Regions from separate parts of the Homo sapiens genome. Here regions 1 and 2 are each linked to region 3. The links are contacts of gene promoters, found by promoter capture Hi-C in blood cells and fetal thymus (Javierre and others, 2016). All regions are on one chromosome and are shown on one strand. The core of a region is centred on a gene start or on the middle of the fragment in contact, and the rest is flanking DNA. Distances in the headings are between cores, read along the strand shown. Region 1 has its middle 4.6 kb from the start of CDX2. Region 2 overlaps LNX2 (ligand of numb-protein X 2). Region 3 holds the start of GSX1 (GS homeobox 1).

The links. The method cuts DNA at HindIII sites, captures the fragments that hold promoters and counts their contacts. A CHiCAGO score of 5 or more calls a contact.
Region 1: a contact is called between a fragment that was not itself captured here and the fragment with the promoter of GSX1 in region 3, in 1 of 17 cell types (naive B cells). The highest score is 5.6, in naive B cells.
Region 2: a contact is called between a fragment that was not itself captured here and the fragment with the promoter of GSX1 in region 3, in 2 of 17 cell types (endothelial precursors and megakaryocytes). The highest score is 5.6, in endothelial precursors.

Annotation. Positions count from the first base shown.
Region 1 is chr13:27,971,888-27,975,844 of GRCh38, reverse strand. No RefSeq gene overlaps it. Among named protein-coding and RNA genes, the nearest start is that of CDX2, 4.6 kb to the right of the region's middle. RefSeq lists enhancers at 3,233-3,879, 3,880-3,957. The HindIII fragment of the contact is 3,920 bases long and covers 1-3,549 here.
Region 2 is chr13:27,556,408-27,560,426 of GRCh38, reverse strand. It overlaps LNX2 (ligand of numb-protein X 2), which reads left to right. Exons shown (of 10, transcript NM_153371.4): 6 at 442-585; 7 at 4,014-4,019. Among named protein-coding and RNA genes, the nearest start is that of LNX2, 62 kb to the left of the region's middle. The HindIII fragment of the contact is 1,141 bases long and covers 1,174-2,314 here.
Region 3 is chr13:27,790,747-27,794,877 of GRCh38, reverse strand. GSX1 (GS homeobox 1) reads right to left here and starts at 2,395. Exons shown (of 2, transcript NM_145657.3): 1 at 1,776-2,395; 2 at 110-1,312. The coding sequence starts at 2,187. The coding sequence ends at 930. RefSeq lists enhancers at 1-56, 1,665-2,468. The HindIII fragment of the contact is 6,142 bases long and covers 1-3,737 here.

The sequences.
Region 1 (3,957 bases), core at 340-2,839, 180 kb before region 3:
GGCCTCTGGTGCGCCCGAGGCGGGAGAGGAGCCCCGGCCGCGTGGACCCTAGCTTGCGCGGCAATCATCGCGCCTTGACTCTAGGCCCGGCTGCTCAGGGAAGGACAGCCCAGGGCGCGCCCAGCGAGCTTCAGGGGGTACGGAAGTGGTTAGGGCAGATTTCAGGGTGAACAACTAATATTTTACTTACCAATTCGTTAAAAACAAAGAAAACAAAACCAATCGCGGTGGCAAGGCCAAGAAGAGTTGGAAGGCAAAGAGCTGATTTCAATTTCTGTAACCCGACGACCCTCCAGGCACAGGCCCTTACGAAGTGGGGGCAGCTTTGTGGATTTTCACTTCCCTTGGAAATGTCCAAGCCCCGGCAGGAGAACGCTCCCAGTAAAGAGACGGGAGAGCGCAGCTCCGGATGAGAACTCAGGAGCCGACCCGGGCTTGTCACTCACCTGTGTAACTTAACTGGGATACGGAATGGGGCCTCCTCTTTATTAACCCAGAAAGGTAGGCATTTTGGTCTGTGTGCCCAAAAGATGTCTACAGACACTAAAATTGGAAGGAAAGAAAGGGAAAAGGGCAACATAAATTCTATACATGATCTTTACCCATTTTAAATATGACACATTTCTAGAGATTAGCCACAGGATATCAGTTCTGACTGATTTTTTTTTTTTTTTGAAACGGAGTGTCACCCTGTCGCCCAGGCTAGAGTGCAATGGCGTGATCTCGGCTCACTGCAAACTCCGCCTCCCGGGTTCAAGCGATTCTCCTGCCTCAGCCTCCCAAGTAGCTGGGATTACAGGCGCGCGCTTCCACTCCCAGCTAATTTTGTATTTTTGGTAGAGACGGGGTTTCACCATGTTGGCCAGGCTGGTCTCGAACTCCTGACCTCGTGATCCACCCGCCTCAGCCTCCCAAAGTGCTGGGACTACAGGCGTGGGCCACGGCGCCCGGCCCAAGAGGAGTTATTCTAAGAAAGTATTTACTGTGAGACAAAAGTAGATGGATACCATCTTTGTCAACTGGAGAAAAATCTGGGATGGAATTTATGGAAAATTCATGCAATAAATGAATAAACCACAGTTATGGGGTGCCTGTGAAAGACATAGGACCTGGAGCATGGTCAGAATTGTAGCAATAGCAGAACCTGATTGTTCTGGTGCTATTTGGTGCAGGGGGTGGGAGTGGGAAAATGGGATTCTCTAATCGTGCTAGTTGGTTTTGTGTTTGGGGTGCCATGTTGCCAGGGTGGCACCAGCAGCTGTAGTAATAATAAACATCTATACAGATCGCTATGGGTTGCAAAGAATGCACATACTGTAGCTCATTTACTTTAAGGGACTTGAACAGCTAGCTGTGCAACTTGGGGAAAATCACCTAACCTCTCTGAGCCTTGGGTTCACCTTTGTAAAATGGAAAGGTTACACAGACTTTAAGACCCCTGACTCCCCTCCAGGGAATGTAGCTAGCCAATGGGACAGTAACTCAAGAGGAGCAGAACCTTTATTTAAGCTCCTTCCCTTAGCCACATGAAACTTACCCTGTAGGACTTCCTAGGAACATATTTTCATGTGGCAAACAAAGGTCATTCCAGGCACGAGACAATGGTGAGGGAACAAATGTTCATTGAAAGTTCTCCACGCCAAAGCCACGTGGTAACAGTTGGCTGGTGCTGCCCGGGGAGCCTGGGCTCCTAGCATCAAGAGGTTTCCTTTGGGGTGGAAGTTCTGGTTCCCAGTAGGGACACCAATCTTTGAGACCTCCAAGTCACTCCCTCTTGTGGATTTAAATCATCCTCTGTCCTCACCCACCACAAAGAATGTGTTATACAATGCCCAGTGTCCACAGGCCCTAGTTTCAGAAGAAAGGAAGAAAATGGGCAACGACTATTTATTTGCCTAACTTTTACCCAATGTACCAAACCAGATTTCTGTACCCAAATATTACCCTTTCTCCTGAGGCTCTTAATTTTCCTTGATCTCTTGGATGTGAGAATATATTTTGGATAGAGAAGCATAAAAAAAAAAAAAAAGTTGTTCCCTGCCTTGGATCAGAAATCTTGGTGGTCTCTTCACAACAAGAGTAAAACAGCTGGCTTTTCTTATCCCATTATCCTGCAGCCTGGTCCCTGAGTGGTAACATGTTAGCCCACAATGACCTCCCAATTAATTCAGAAACCTTTCCTCAGGTAGAGAGGGTCAGACACCCAGTTTGCTTGGGAAGAAAATATGCTTCACTCCACTGGGCAAGGAGACATCTGCTTCTGTGAATGAAGCCTGGGCGGCTGTAGGCAGCTGCGGCCCCTCCCTGCTGTTCAGGATGGACATGTTGGGATCCACTGTGGCCTGATGGGGCTGGACAGGTGGCGGACTCTCCGGAGGCCCTACAGAAAGGACGATGTCATTGATTTCCTTCCCAGAGATGTTAGCTGAGTGGGCTGTGGCAGGGCAAGGCAGGGTTGTTGGGGTCAAACCAACCATTATTGAGCCTTTCTTTGTGTGAGTAGATGGCTGATTGAGTGCAATGGCTGAAAGACTCCCTAAACTCCAAATTAAGTAGAGATTGAGCTGTTTTTCCACATCAGTATAGATGGCCAAGCTGAATAATTTTGAAAGCTGACATTCTCTTCCTTTTCACTCCTCCTTAATTATCCCTGGAATTCAGGTCAATGCAAGGTAAGAGTTTCCTGTGCAAGGTATAGAAGGACTATATTATTTGGATAGTTTTATTTTCCTTTTTTCAAATTAAAAAAATTTTTAGAGACAGGGTCTCCCTCTGTCACCCAGGCTACAGTGCAGTGGCACAACCATAACTCACTGTAACCTCGAACTCCTGGGTTCAAGCCATCCTCCAACCTCAGCCTCCCAAGAAGCTGAGGCTATAGGTGCATATCACCACACCCAGCTAATTTTTCAATTTTTTTTGTAGAGATAGGGTCTTGCTATCCTGGGCTCAGGTGATCCTCCTGCCTCAGCCTCCTAAAGTGCTGGGATTACAGGTGTGAGCCCCTGTGCCTGGCTGGACAATTTTCTTGATCTAAAAAAGATTCAGAAAGTCAACCTACATACTAAGGTGGATAGAGATGGCCTGCCCTAACTGGGTTATGTTAGCCAATGGGCTCCCCAGTTTCCAGGAGCCACAAATATCGGGCAGAGCATGGTCCCCTTAGTCAGAGCAAATATTAGGACCTTTGAACAGGGAGGGAGCTGTGTCAGTGATGTCTGGATTTCAGGAGTTTTTCATCTGCTTGGAGGGGCAGCCCGCCCTTCCAACAGCCTCCTGCTTCCCACCCCCTTTGTGGCCCCTGCCCTTGCCACCAGCCAGGATCCTGCATGCCTGGACCCTCTCTGAAGAATGTGGAATGGCCTCTACTCTGTCAGTAACAGAGGCATCCTTTTGATAACCTGATCGTGGCCACTCCTGCAGTTTTACTGTTGCTTCATTTACCAGGGTCTCTTTTTTTCCCCACCCTTTGCTGCCCTTAGATGTCAGCTCTAGCTCTGGCTCTGTGGGGTTGCAGTTTCAGCCCTAGGCCAACCGCAGGCCCAAGCTTCCCAAACAAGTTTGCCTCTCCCAGAGTGAGTTGCTACAGGCTTCTCTGGCCCAGCAGCAGGACTTACAGGGTAGAAGGGCCCTTCTGGCATCGAGGGTTAGGGATGACCATCCCTGTCCCTTCCTGGGGGCTTCTCAGTGCAGGCCAAAAGGCTCCTAAGAAAGACGCCAAGCACCTGGGGCCTAGGACTAAGAAAGCCCTGCATGGGGCCTTGATGTGGGTGGCTTCTGCCTCCTCCCAGGGACACAGGCCTGCACTTAGAAGCTGGAGAGGCTGCCCCTGAGCAGAGCGAATCTCCAGAGGCCAGTCATGGGGCACCAACCTGCTAGGGGCCAGGGCTGTCTAAATGCCAAGACAACCAGGCTCCTAGAGTTCTGTCAGCCACCTTCTACCCCTCTCTGACTGCT
Region 2 (4,019 bases), core at 495-2,994, 230 kb after region 3:
GTAGCCACCATGGAAATTTATTTCAAAAGTCACAATGGACTTTAATCAAGTTTTGAAGCAGTTCTTCCTTTTATTTCCTTTGCTCTGTCTTGCAATATTAAGGCCAACCTTGAAGATGCAAAGAAGTATTACAAGAAAAGTTACCAATCATGGGGCAATAAGAGCCCAGGCAGTGTGACCACTTTGCCTTGGTCATTTTGGAGGTGGGGTTGCAGACGGCATGCCCAAGATTTTTGTGTGTATGTGCTTCAACTGCTGAAGTTTTAAGATATTAGCTAATGAAATGAACTCATTCCTCTTGCCACCAGGTGCTTGCAGTCACTGTCCAGATGACGCCCTGGTACAGTGATTAAGAAGTTCATTGAAAATTACACTGTGTGTAATCTTTAAAATGACAAACATCATTAGTCACTTATGGTAATGTATTTGTGTTTTCTCCAGGCCAGTGGAGAGAGAGTGAATTTAACAATTGCTAGACCAGGGAAACCCCAGCCTGGTAACACCATTAGAGAAGCAGGAAATCATAGCAGCAGCAGCCAGCACCACACACCACCACCGTATTATAGCAGACCAAGCTCACATAAGGTGAGGATTTTTTTTTTTTTTTATGCCACCATCAAAGGATCATTGTTACAAGCTGGTAAGATTTAAATGAAGGTTTTTTTGTGTGTCAGTCACACCTCAATAAAGCAGTTTTTTTAAAAAAAAGATTCAAATGAGGGTTGTTATTCTGTTGAAAAATATAGGTGTTTGGAATATGAAATGTATATGTTTTGCTACCTTGGAAAGTGACTGCTTTGTTCCTTAGATCTGGAGATAGTTTCTTGGAGGGGAAGTTTCCTTTGCCAGGCGATTAACAAGAAGCGTGAAATCTTCTATCTGTTTAATCCTACTTGAAAGTGGAATTTATCTTGGGTTGCTTATTTAAATATAAGAGTTAGTTGATGAAAAAACATAAGACAAGATTGACAAATCTATGCTTAATAATTGAGCCTGTTGCCTACAGAACCTGAATTAGATACATGAAGATTAAACATATGAATCATGAATTTTGATAGGTACATATATAGCATATTTACGTATTTGATAGGTACATATATAGCATATTTCTTTTTATGTTAAAGCTTAGAGGAATATTACCCTAAATCATTTAAAATTTCCATATGTTAAGCTTTGTTACTGTTTCTTCAGAATCAGTATTTCACTGGTTTTATAATGTATTCTACCTGAGCTGAGAATTTTGATGCTACCTCACTTTCAGTCCAAAAATCTGAAAGGATGATACTTTAGCATTCTTGATATTATTTACTTCATTTCATCCTTCATTTGAACTCTTAACTTCCAGTGGGCCAGAAGTTTTAAAACAATGATGTTATGCTTACCCAATTATGCAAAAATAAAAGCTAAATGTGACCTACCAGAGTAATTCTCCTTAAGTAAAATTAAATTGCTTTACTAAGCAAAAACTTATTTATTGTCACCTGAAAGTAACATTTGAGTGAATAATTAGCTTTGGAGTCTGTCTCTGGTACCCTAAGAAAGCATAGCTTAAAGACACAGTATTTTTGGCCCATTGGGTTTATATGGTTTTCTGAGCTTAAGTTCTCTACAGACTTGTCATTGGTCTTTGATTTAGTTAATACTAAAAAGAAATTATAATCACAGACTTCATTCTCATTTCTGAGCAAAACCAAAATGTATGAAGGAAACCTATAATTTGCCTTTAAATAATGACTGTGGAAAAGGGGTAATTGTTTTAAACAGGACTTTTTGAATAGGTGTTGTTTCATATAGCTAGTCCTTGCTTTACAAGTTTTTTATACATATAAAACTATAATATAAGGTACAAGTTGATAATTGAATCTTTTATGTTATTGAATTTTATAATTTGAGATAGGGGTGTATATAACAACATTATAGTTTTAAGAGAGTTTGAAAAACTGTAATTAATAATTCCAGTATTCCTATAGCAAACTCTCCTTAATTCAATTTGTTGTGGGCACATGTATTTTTCTGTCATAACTATGCTAATTCTCATTCTCTTTAATTTTATATGACAATGTTCTAAATAGTGATGCTGAATTTATTCTATTCCAGGCACTCTGCAAACCTGGCTGGTTAGAAAAACCACTTGAAATGGAATGTGTTCATTTAGCTATTTACTACTAAGATGCTCCATTTGTTTTGTCAAATCCTGATACAGAAAAGTAAAGGTCTCCTAGGGAAAACACATACACATTCACCAAAACAATCTTTTCAGACAATTATAATCATTCTGAAAAAATTAAAGTATATATTAGTCTTCTATAAAGCTTCCCAGTAGCTGTTCTGATAAACATTCATGTTTGTTTTAGGAAGTTCCTTGAAGCAAACTGAGTATAATCTTTGAAGTTTGGTTGGGTTCCTGGGTAAAAATTGCATACATTTTAGACACCTAGAGTAATAAAATACCCACACTTTGCTTAAATATGTAAGGGCTGAACCTGCTTAAATGAATATACTCAAGGTTGAGTTTACCTGAGTTGTCTTCAGAATAAAGTTGTGTTTGTCTAATTTTGAAGGCTGCTGACAAAAATTTCATACCTTTAGATAGGAGATTGCCTTAAAACATTTACAGATTTTCTCCTTGGTCATAACATTTTCTGGGAATACTATGCTGCTATTACACATAGCTCCTTTGGTAAAATTTCAAGAGTATAGATTTCACATCTGGAGAAGGGTAGATAGGCCTAGAATTCCAGGCCCTGATTTAGAGATTTGATAAATGCCATTATTAACAGTTAAATACATGTCAATTCTCTAATGTGATTTAAGGAAATGTTATAATTCTGTGAATGTAATTTGTATTTTTTATATTATTAACAATTTTAATTATCTACAACATTCTCTTAACAGTTAATAAGTGTTAAAACCTTCTGAGACATTATCTTACACTGTACACTTAATGGGATAGTTCTTGTGTAGGTGCATATATACAATATGTACATGTAGTCTATCACACTATATAAACATATACAAAATACTATTTGTATTAATATATAGTACATTCTTTTAACATACGTAAATTTTGAATCCCAGGACAGTTGCCTATATTAACATGATTCAGGACAAGTTACATGACCTCCCTAAGTTTGTTTCATCATCTGTAAAATGGGGTCAATAATAATATATAATTTCAGGACTTTTGTGAAGGTTAAATGAAATAATGCATGTAAAGGCATTAGCTTTTCACAGGCTAAGCCCAAATGTTAATTATTATTTTAATATTAATATTGCATATGTACATCTTATTTTTTACTGAATTCTAATTCAAAAGAAAAGTGATGTTTTAAATTCTTTTTCTTCCAGGAACATCTCAATAATAAGTAGTAGTAACAAATGTCAGTAAAAATAGGAGATATTAATTTGTTGGGAATTTATTTCCCTGTCATTAACTTTTTCAAAAATTCAGTCATTTTATATCCTTTTAGCTTTTCATGAAGATTTTGAAGGTAGATTTGCATCTTCTTCATGATTGAGCACTCATAGTAGTAGTCAGTGAGAATCAGGAGATAGGTCGATGACCTTTTTCTGGCAGTTGCCAAAATCTACACTTTTGTACTACTCTGTCAACTTTTCTGTCAAAGAAATGGGGGAAAGATGGAAGTAAAATTAATTGATTTGTCTTCAGAATCTTAAAACTCAAAAGCATCATTTACTTTTGTGAAGTTGATCAAACATGAAGCTCAAACAAATTATACAAATGATGTGCTTATTTTACTTTGACTGCTGTATTTCAGCAGTCCTGAGTTTTTTCAGCTACATAAACAGTCATGAAAATAACATAGTCCAAAATTTGACATTGATCCACAGCAGACTTATTAAGAACTGTGTATTACTTTCATTTGCAATTAAGGAATAAAAAATAATTACTTTATAAATGCCATGTAAGTTATTACCTTAGTTTGAAGTAATAACTTTACTTCAACTATATTTTATTCATTATCCAATGATTTTTTTCTTGTATGTTTTAGGATCTT
Region 3 (4,131 bases), core at 1,146-3,645:
TGGCGCCTGTCTACTCCAGAGCGAAGGCCTCTGGGCTCAGAGCCACGGGCATTTCTAAGAAAAAAAAAAGTTTATTTAAAATTTTGTACATAAATAAATAAATAAATATCTTCTGGCATTGCAGAGGCCGTACAATTACACAGCTAGGCTGGGGCGGGCCAGAGTCTGGAGGGGGAAGAGTGGGGTCGCCAGCGGCGCAGAGCGGGGTCCTATGTTTAGAGGAAGGAAGAGCGTGTTGGAAACAGAGCAAATCTGTTTCCCCAATATGGATACTACGGGCGAAATTTATCATCTGTGAGAGGAGCCGTGGGGACTGAGGACAGCAAGGCCAGATCAAGGGACAAATGGACTGACTGAAGGAGGAGGCTCCCTGAGGAGGGGAAGGGAAAAGGAGAAGGAAAAAAAAAGTGGGGGTTCATAAATGTGTGTGTTGGCGGGCGGGGGCCGAGTGAATAAATGATCACAGGAAAGAGGTGGGGAGGGACAAAAAGACATTTTAAAAAGAGAAGCGAACGAGCATCCAAGGCCGCCGACCTTGACCGAGAGCGGAGGAGAGTAGAGTAAGCGAGGAAGCCCAAGCCAGCCCAGAGAGGGCGGGCTAGGAGGCGCCGGCTGCCAGCAAGGCGCTGCGCCAAGCAGGCTTGCGGGCGGGGGCCGCGGTGCTGCACTGCCCAGGAGGACTCGAGCGCTTACAGTGTTCACAGCTTGGAGTTGGCTTTGGACACGAGCGAGCCCTGGGGCGGGGACGCCATGGTCCAGTCTCTGCCAAGCTCTCAGCCCTGCCCAGGCCCGGGACCTCTGCAAAGCAGTGCCAAATCCATGCCAGGCAGTGGTTTGGCTGCGGGTGCCTGGGAATCAGCGCTGAGTCCCAGGACTAGTCTCCGAGGCGCAGGGAGGTCTTGGGGTGGGCGACCTAGGGAGACACGCGCCTAGGGAGTGACCGTAAGATCCCGGTCGTCCTTCCCTGAGGAGGACGGAGACATGGGCAATTCGTCGTCATCCTCGGAGCACTTGGCTGAGGAGAGCGATGCGCACTTGCAGCCTTGCGGTGCGCTCCCGCCACCACCGGCACCCCCGCCGCCGCCGCCACGATGGTTGCTGCCCTTGCCCTCCTTCTTGTGCTTCACTCGGCGGTTCTGAAACCAGATCTTCACCTGCTTCTCGGACAGATTCAGGTAGGTCGCGATCTCGATGCGACGTAGGCGGGACAGGTACATATTAGAAGCGAACTCGCGCTCCAGCTCTAGCAGCTGCGTGCTGGTGAAAGCCGTGCGCATCCTCTTGCTGCTGGGCAGCTGGTTAGAGCTGCTGTCTGGAGGTGGCAGAGCAGAGAAGGAAGCGATCAGACCTCTGTGCTGTGGACCCAATCCCTTGGTAGGCGGTCGCCAGAATCCTACGACTTTGACCTCTTACCCATCTCTTCGCCCCAACACAATCCACAGCAGAGCTACAGTGAGCGCTCCTTGTCCAGCTCCGAGATCCTGATTCTCCCGGAGTCATGCAGCCCTGGAACCCCTTCCCCTTCATGGAGAGCCTTGGATCCCAGCCCTCACTTACCCCGGCCCACACTCCAGGACCTGGACGTCTGCCCTCATCCGCCTCCTGGCGTTGTGTCCCGGCCCTCTATCCTCACTCCACCCCAAGCGCCCCCCTTAGTCCCCGACATGACCCTCACCGCCCCCAGAAAGCCCAGGGTCCCTCTTCCTCCATCTCTGGCTCTCCATCCTGCTTCGGATCACCTCTGCCCGGTCCCTCTGCGCGGCGGCCCCGCTTACCCACAGAGATGCAGTGGAACTGCCTGGGGTCAGGCAGCGGGTAGGAGGTCTGGTAGAGCGCGGCGGCAGCAGCAGCGGCGGCCGGGCCGTGAGCGACCCCGGGCGACACAGCAGAGTGCTGGCGGCCCAGGGGCGCGTGGCAGTACTGCGAGCCGAAGGGTGGGAAGGAAGCCTTGAGTAGAGGCAGCGCGGGCGGCCCGGGGGGCCCATGCAGCTGCGAGGCGGTGACGCAGAGCGGGCACACGCACAGCAGCCCAGCCTTGCGCGCGTGGCAGGCGCCAGGCGAGAGACCGTGCAGCGCGTGCGGCGGGGGCACAGCGTAGGGGAAGAGCGGCGGCGGGCTGCCCTCGGGCGCCTTCTTCTCGCCCGCCTCGCGCAGCACTAGCGAGTCCACCAGGAAGGAGCGCGGCATGGCCCCGGCGCGCGGTCGCCCCGCAGCCAGCCCGCCCTCTGCGCCCACCGCACCTTTCGGCTCTCCACGCGCTTTCCCTGGCCGCGGTATCCCGCAGCTGCCTCTGCCCAGGAGGCTGAACGCGCGGCTGAGACCTAGGCTGAAACAGTAGCCTCTGCTGCCGTGGGCACCGCCCAAAGAGCGCGGGGTGCTGGCCAGCGCTAGTGGTGCTGAAAGGCGCCGGCGGCGCGGCTTAAATAGGACTATTGCCATGTGATGGACTACGCCAGGAGCGGCCGGGGCCTCTCAATAGGGTTTTTGTGCCTTTTCTCTTGGCATTCACTCTGCACGCTTCCTCATTATTTCACTTGTTAACTAAATGAACTGCATAATGTACTCTATTCTTGTCAACCCCACCCACGCCGTAACAGGCGCCCTCGCCCCCTCCTCTCCCTTTTGCGGGTTTATTTTCTCATTCTCCCGCGATTTAATATTCTTTCCTTTCTCTTTATTTCTTACTCCCCTTTGGCTTTGCATTGGCCATCAGCCCGTTCACCTTACTGATTTTGCACCCCCGCGGCCTCTCTTCTACAGATCCCCATGGGCGCACACCCTCATATCCTCTGTCCACTTGGTCCTGGTCCCCTTCTTTCTATTATCGCCCTTACACCCCAAAAGTATGCTGTCTCCAGTCAGCCCTGTCAGCTCAGTGCCGTGCACCCCCGAACCTCCCTCCAGCCGGTCTCAGATTTTCCACCTGTGGAATCGCTTCTCTCTCTGCGTCGGAAGAAGGAGGACCGGGTTCCCGCGTGAAGGAGGCGTCTGTGGGGAGGGAGGAGAAGGGCTCATTATTCCTTATCCAGCCCTAGACCCATCGCTGTCCCTCGGTTTTCTCTAAGTTTCTCAAATAGTCTTAATTTTGGTGCTGCCTACGACGCCCAGTCTTTGTTCGGTAGATGCTGGCCAACCAGCCCTTTCCTTCAAATGACAGGGCCGTGGATGTAAAAGAGGAAAAACAGTCTCTGAGCGTTACGAACAGAGACAGGGAATGGGGAATGAAAGCCGAGATGGCGCAGATCTAGATCTCGCACCCCAGCACATGTGGCGAGTGCGGACTGTCTGCCCGCGCATCTTGCCCACACCCTGTCTACTGGAGCACACTTCCAGCAGTGCGCTGGGAAACCGCTGCCATCTCTTAGTTTGGAACGGCGCGAAGGGCGGTTGTATTCCTGGCATCGGCTGCCTTTGCCCACCCTGACCCGCCTCCGCTCTCCCCAAGACCCGGCTTCTTCTTCCTGCCGCGTCACTCTTCTTTCTGGTCACACAATGGTTAAACAACTTCAAACGCTCAGAGCTGTGTACACAGCTCCAGCTTTTTAAATCGTTCTCGGGCTCAAAGCTGTTTCGCCCAGGAGCTTTTTCCATACAATGGGAAATCAGCATAAACATTTCTAATTTACAGCCCGGGACTTTTCACAGGAGACGTTTACTTTCGATTTTATTGGAACCAAATCGCTGCAGTCACCTGCTCTGAGCCCTGAATGGAATTGTGAGAAATGGAGGGGGAAGCTTAGGGGTCTGGGGAAGCAGTGCGCAGGAATAAGATTGCCCAAACCCGAAGCATCTGCATGGGCTTTTATCCTTGGCAACATCTTTGCAATAACAACAGCAACAGATTATAACTGATTAAAAAGCAAAGATAATTTGTTTTGCGAGATAATAACTGCTTCTGTAAAAGGGAATAGGACAATGGGAGAAGTAACCTGCATGGAGGGCATGGCATCTAGCAGGAGTAAGGGTTCAATGTTTTCTTGGTTGCTTGGCATGGAGTGGGGGGCAAGGCTGCCCTCTGAGACAGAGTCTCAGCGCCAAGGCTCCCCCACTCTAGGGTGGTGCCTGCAAACCAGCCGGAACGCATCAATGCAGCCTAATTCCCGTTCTAATTGCTCTCTGGGAAATTTGAGC